Regions from separate parts of the Homo sapiens genome. Here region 1 is linked to region 2. Evidence: promoter capture Hi-C in human tissues and cell types (Jung and others, 2019). All regions are on one chromosome and are shown on one strand. The core of a region is centred on a gene start or on the middle of the fragment in contact, and the rest is flanking DNA. Distances in the headings are between cores, read along the strand shown. Region 1 overlaps ATP10B (ATPase phospholipid transporting 10B (putative)). Region 2 holds the start of ATP10B (ATPase phospholipid transporting 10B (putative)).

The links. The method cuts DNA at HindIII sites, captures the fragments that hold promoters and counts their contacts. A contact is called where the count stands out against the background at its distance.
Region 1: a contact is called between a fragment that was not itself captured here and the fragment with the promoter of ATP10B in region 2, in 1 of the 25 tissues and cell types used here (dorsolateral prefrontal cortex).

Annotation. Positions count from the first base shown.
Region 1 is chr5:160,802,350-160,805,588 of GRCh38, forward strand. The region is part of intron 1 of ATP10B (ATPase phospholipid transporting 10B (putative)); the gene reads right to left. Among named protein-coding and RNA genes, the nearest start is that of ATP10B, 48 kb to the right of the region's middle. The HindIII fragment of the contact is 5,635 bases long and covers 1-3,239 here.
Region 2 is chr5:160,850,351-160,853,588 of GRCh38, forward strand. It overlaps ATP10B (ATPase phospholipid transporting 10B (putative)), which reads right to left and starts at 1,861. Exons shown (of 26, transcript NM_025153.3): 1 at 1,591-1,861. The HindIII fragment of the contact is 6,864 bases long and covers 1-3,238 here.

The sequences.
Region 1 (3,239 bases), core at 250-2,749, 48 kb before region 2:
ACCATTGCCTGTTTTCAAGCCAACCTATATCAGTGGTTCTCAACTGGAAGCAATTTTGTCCCCCAGAGGACATTTGGCAATGTCTAGAGGCATTTTTGGTTGTCGCACCTGGGGAAGTCTACCGATATCTAGATGAGACAATGCCTGCGATATTGTTAAACATCTATGGTGAATGCACAGAACATTTCCCACCAGTCATCTCCCCAACAAAACATCAGTAGAACTGAAGGGGAGAAACCCTGACTTAGACAAGTTCAAAATGCATGGTAAGGGACACTGCTAAGTTCACATGGAGAGCCTGATACCTACTGCTTAAGGCACTTGAGTTCTTTTCCATTTCTTCCAGCCTAAAGTTAGTTGCTAATGGCTTCAGCCTCCTGAATGTGGAGACTGTACATTAGGGGGCAGCTTGGTTTCAGACTTGCAACCGCTGCTGTGTCAGGATTCAAAGTATCAGAGTGTGTGTGGGGATGCTTTTGTCTGGCTTCTTCTCATCTTTCTCTTGCTGAGCTCAAGTGGGAGGTTTCTCTTCAGTTTCACGATTCTTCATCCCCCATCCCCATTCCAGAAAAAGGCAGGAGGGGAGATAATTGGGGGACAACATAAGGTTGTCAGCTGCTTGCTCAGAAGGAAGGAGTTACTTCCAGCTGAACTCACTCTCCTGCACATGCTCCCTGGGCAGACTTTTGCTATCATGGGCTTTCTCCGTGACATGCTCCTGTTCAAAAGGCTTCTGTTGGCTCACTTGGCATGGTGGGCTTGGAACCAGCTGACCTGGGCTTGACTAGCTATATAACTTTAGATCTCTAAACCTCAGTTTTTTTCCTTTTTGTTGAAGGAGGATGTTGTCATCAACTGTTTAGGTTGTGCTATATGGATTAAGAAACCACACTATCACTGCTGTTGACCACTACCCCAGTTAACATTGCCATGAAGATTATCACGTACCAGGAACTGTGCTAAATGCTTTACACATTATTTGATTTAAGCTTCATTGTAACCTACTTTTTAGAGGCATCAACTGAGGCATAGGAAGAGGCTACTTGGGCCAGGCACGGCGGCTCACACCTGTAATCCCAGCACTTTGGGAGGCTGAGGAGGGCAGATCACAAGGTCAGGAGTTCAAGACCAGCTTGGCCAACATGGTGAAACCCCGTCCCTACTAAAAATACAAAAATTAGCCGGGCGTGGTGGTGCATGCCTGTAATCCCAGCTTCTTGGGAGCCTGAGGCAGGAGAATCATTGGAACCCCGGAGGTGGAGGTTGCAGTGAGCCAAGATCATACCACTGTACTCCAGCCTGGGTGACAGAGCAAGACTCCATCTCAAAAAAATAAAATAAATAAAAAGAGGTTACTTGTTCAAGGTCACATAGCTTGTACTTGGTAGAATAATTTAAACCTGGTGGTCCTACCACTAAACTCTCCTTAATTAATACTGAGAAAGAGCTCTGGATAATGTGAGGTGCTATGCAATCTCAGAATCTTTTCCCCATGATTTATATTTGTTATTTATTTAACTGGTATTTATTGAGTGCCTCTTAGATGTCAGAGACTATGCTAGAGGAGGTCAACACAGATTTTTTTTTTCAACGTTGCCCCTGTAGGATTCATGGGGAGGCAGAAATCAAATTTCTGACTCCAGTTCCTGACTGGAACTGGAGTTACTGTGCCCTGATGTCCTCCTGTGTTCCAGAGCAGATTCAGTGCAAAAATACAAAACAAAAACAAAACTAAGTCAAATGTCCTACCCTTGCACCCATACATAGAGATAAGCAGATCTATTTGGCCAAATAGCTACTTCTATAAGGGATGAGGGTTGTGTGTTGTGTAGTCATCACTTCCTTAGGAAACATTTTTCATCTTTGTCAAAGTCCCCTTTTTGCAGTCTTATTGTAGTATGCACTTCTCCTTCTCAGCAGTTGTCTGGTCTCAATTGTATACTCATATGTGTGTATGTGATAAATAGATGAACTATGTTGTACTGTTTTGTTCATCATTTGTTCCTCAGTGTCTACTTCTGGGGTGGAATATAGAGAGTGTTCTATAAATATCTAATAAATGAACTTGAGTTCATACTATGTGTCAGCTCCTGTGCTAGGATCTTCACGTGCATTATCTTACATGTGAGAATGGATGAGTACTGACATTTTCCAGAGGGGGAAAACAGGCTTATGAGCCCATAGTCATATAGCTGGTAAATTAGGATTCTAACCCAGGTTCATATAGATCCAAAGACCCATGTCCCTTTAGTATCAAACTAGACTGGAGTTTGAAAACTACACATTTGCAAATTTGCAATCATCTTGCAGAGAGTATGATCACAGTGGGGACTGTGAGCTCCAGATTCAGTCATTTTGAGTTCAAATCTTGGTTCCATTACTTCACAACTGTTGGACCTTGGGATATGTGTGCATCTTATGACTCACTTTTCCTTATAAATAAAATAGAAATAAAAAACAGTAGCACCTCATGATGTTATTGTGAAGGCTAGTTGGATTACAGCTGTCCCTGCATATATGCAAGAGATTGGTTTCAGTAACCCCCCACCACCAAAATCCATTCATACCAAAGTCCTGCTGTCAGTATTGCAGAATTATGTGTACCAAAAAATGGCCTTCCAGATACATGGGTTCCCTCAAATATTGTATTTTCAATTTGTATTTGGCCAAAAAAAAGCTGTGCATACATGGACCCGTGCAGCTCAAACCTGTGCTATTCAAGGGTCAACTAAATTTGTGACGTGTTTAGAATAGTGCTTGGCACATTGTATGTGTCTATATATTACATGTGTTTGCTTTTATTCTCCTTGTTGGAGAAAGAAGAGCTTTAAAGACTATATATCATTGTTTATGTATCATTTTTAGGATTCTGCACATGAAGTATACTAATCTGATAAGAAATGTTGAAATTTATGTGCTGATGACAAAAATAATTTAGCAGTAATTAATAATAATGTGTGTCTCCTGCATGGCAGCTCCTCAGCGTATCCACATTAAACAATCACTTGTATTTAACAACATCTTGTTAAATTTAATTGTCTTGTTAAATCTGAATTAAGTGTGTCTTAAAGAAGCTATTTAGATCATCACTGAGGTTTTAAGCTGTCTGCTCATTTTAGAAATTGAACCAGAGCTGCCCAGAATGCTGTTAATTTCAGGTTTGGCACACGCATGTGGACATTTCTGGGTTACTACACTAACTGGGTCACGCTCACCTGGAAGGGCCACCAAGACTAACC
Region 2 (3,238 bases), core at 611-3,110:
GAGGCAGAGGTTGCATTGAGCTGAGATTGCGCCACTGCACGCCAGCCTGGGTGACAGAGCAAGACTCCATCTCAAAACAAAACAAAATAAACAAGAAGAAGCAACACTGGATTGAGAGCTCTGAGCCTTGGACTCTGGTGTCCTTTTCTCTCAGTAATTCAGACTTCATTTCTCTAGGTCCTAGTTTTATCATCTGTAAACTAGGCAGCTAGACTAAGTTCCATTCCATTCCTCAGAGCTCCGTTCCTTTGAAAGGCAGCCTCCTTCACTGGACTTATCAGTATCACATGCTTCAAAAGATAAGGCTCATCGTTTAGCACGAGAGGAGTATGATTTAACTGTAAAAAGTCAGCATGTGGGTTTCAACCTTCAGTTTCTCAAGAGCCTATTAATCCACCCATATGTGATGTTATACTGCTATACTCTTTAAAAAATACATGATGAAAACCTGAGGAGAGATCCTGAACCCTTAAATCCATATAATTAGGCTGTAAGAAATGAATTTTCCAAGAATTTTTTAAAAAGTCATCAATGGATGAAATGACAAACTCAGTGGGTGTTATTAAGAGTAATTATAGTAACATCTAGACAGAAAACAACATCTGTGATCTGCCTGATTAATGGCTTAATGTAACTGTATGTCTGTTAATGGAATAATACTCCAAGCAGTCTTGACTGTACATTTGCAAGATCTGGAAACAGAGAAGAAACTGTGGAAGAAGGAAGTAGCAGAGTGCCAGATTGGCTTTGGGAGGTCAAGCTCCTCTCTACAGTTTTCAAATTCTCCTCTGCCTACCTGGCAAATTCAGAGAAAATTGCCTGGCAAATTCAGAGAAAAACCAAGTTCCACCAGACACAGGCATGCACTCCTGTAGGCAAAATAACTAGCAGCTCAGTATAATTTTTATTTTTAACATTACTTTTCACCTTAGGGTTAGGGATAGTGTCACTCCAGCCTTAATAGCAGGCCACAGGACTGTCCTAAATGTATTCATCACAGACCTGCATGCATGGGGCTTTTTTATTTTTTTTCTGGAAGGAGTAACTCATACTTAGGGAAAAAACACATTTTTCTTTAAGCAACAGTTTTCTCCTTTGAACTCAAAGGAAAGTCAAGCTTCCCACCTATAGTTGAAAACTACTGCAATATGGCAGCTTCAGAGTTTATCAAGATGAAATTGGGAAGCCATGTAATGATCTCATTCTCTTCCTCAAAGCTATAGTTTCTTTCTGCTTTGAGAAGAAGGCTGTAACTCCATCTGCTTCCTCAGGCTGCACTGGATGAATGCAGGATAGCAGGATATATTATTTATCATAAAATGTATTCAGGCACATTCAGACTGCAAGCCCTGTTGAGTGAGGAAGTAGCATTTGCCATCAGCTTATCATAATGAAATCAATTGACGAAAAATAAAACATTCTGTTAGAAAAGAAATGTGGATCTCGCACCCAGAAAGCCAAATGAAATTTCAAATGCAGTGTAAAGAAAAGTAGTCATATCCTGGGCCTAATTCAGAACTTAGACTTGATGATTCTAAGAGGCAATTACTCCCCCATTATATAGGTTAAGGCCAGGATGCTTTTACTTACCCCAGCAAAGCTGACGTCCCTATTGAGCAGACTCCAGTAGAAGAAAACAGTGCTTGAAAGTGGCGGTATTTCTCTCGCACACCTTGGCTAAAATAGTTCTCTTTCCTATGGAATTTTTCATTTTTCTGATTATATCTGATTATGTCAAGGCAAGGCCTCAAGCTAACACTCCCTCAGAAACTTAGAGAAGATGACACACTGAAAAGAAATAACTGTGACCAATGAAAGAAAAAGGAAAAATAAGCTGCCTCGCTAGGCCCAAGAGTGAAAGAGAAGAATAGCAAGTCTGTGAATGTGAGGCCGAGTCCCAGAACAGTGAAGGCAGTGTTCTTCGACTTGGCTGAACATTTACATTGTTAGACATGGTTCTTGCATAAATTTCTACTTCCTGTGAATCAATGAGCCAGCAATATCAAAATTCATGGTGATTTTTATTCTCTACGCATGGTACAAAATGACTTTGTCCATCTACCTTTGGTAATGCATGTAATTAAGTGTGAGACAATTATAACCTTGCAGTTCTCTTTGGGGGGCCTGAAATATGATTCAGCTGCTGGGTTTCAAGGGCACTTAAGAAAGAAAAGACTCTCTACAGTGACTTTTATATGCATGCTGATGATGAATTTGCCCTCAAAGCTTCAGAAGTCTCATTTTGCAGTAGTCATAGTTTTTATTGATTACTGTTTGATTATACAAAATAAGGAAAGTGGGACCAATATATTATAGTGGCAGATTATGTGAATGGTGCAAACTTACAGAAAATCAGAATTAGTAATGGGCTTATTGATAGCTTCGATTCATACCCTAAAATGAGATTTTCATGTATAATCCTTTTATTAAGTTACCTACAACTCAACTAATTGGCATAAATGTCATGAGCAAGTTGCTGTATTGATGGATAATTATTGATGGGTCCATAAATAAAAGAGAAGGTAGAATGAGCAGTAAGTTGATTTTAAGGGTAGTAAAAAAAAGAAATATTACCAAACTTAGGAATAAAAGGTGTTGGAAAGAAGTGAACATACTAACTTCATGAAAATCTTTACATAAGATTTTGGTTGGTTGGTAGAGTAATTGTGAACTTTGTATGTACCTACAGATCTTATCAGAATACCAAGAAGAAACATGGACATAGGAAACATTTTACAAGAGAAGAAACACCCACACCATCTAAAATCTGCATCGCTGTGTGTGTAAGACACAAGCTAGGAATTTTTAAGAACATGAAATTTGCCTATGCTTTAGACAGTCTAGAATTTTTAAAAGAGCGAGTTGGCATTTCAAAATTCTCCATCTGCTAAAGAGAAGAATGCTTAAGTCCCTGTTCCTTTACTTCCCTTCACTCAGAGTGCTCTGGCTTCTAGGGACGAGTGTGGTCTAGAATCACAGATACGGTTAAATTGCAGAATATTGCACTAGTGGGTAACTGGAGGTTATTTAGTGAAGCCCCCTTGTGCCATGGAGGAGAATGCTGAAGCTCAGAGAAGTGAATACAATTGCTCAAAGCCAAACAGGAATTTGGTGGTGAACATGGGACCTCAAACCACATTGTCTTTCTCCTAAGACTAGTATATTTTCCATCACTGGTCTTTCTCCTAAGACCAGCTCTTTCCCATTATCACTTTCCTGGTAAAGAGAGAGGCACATG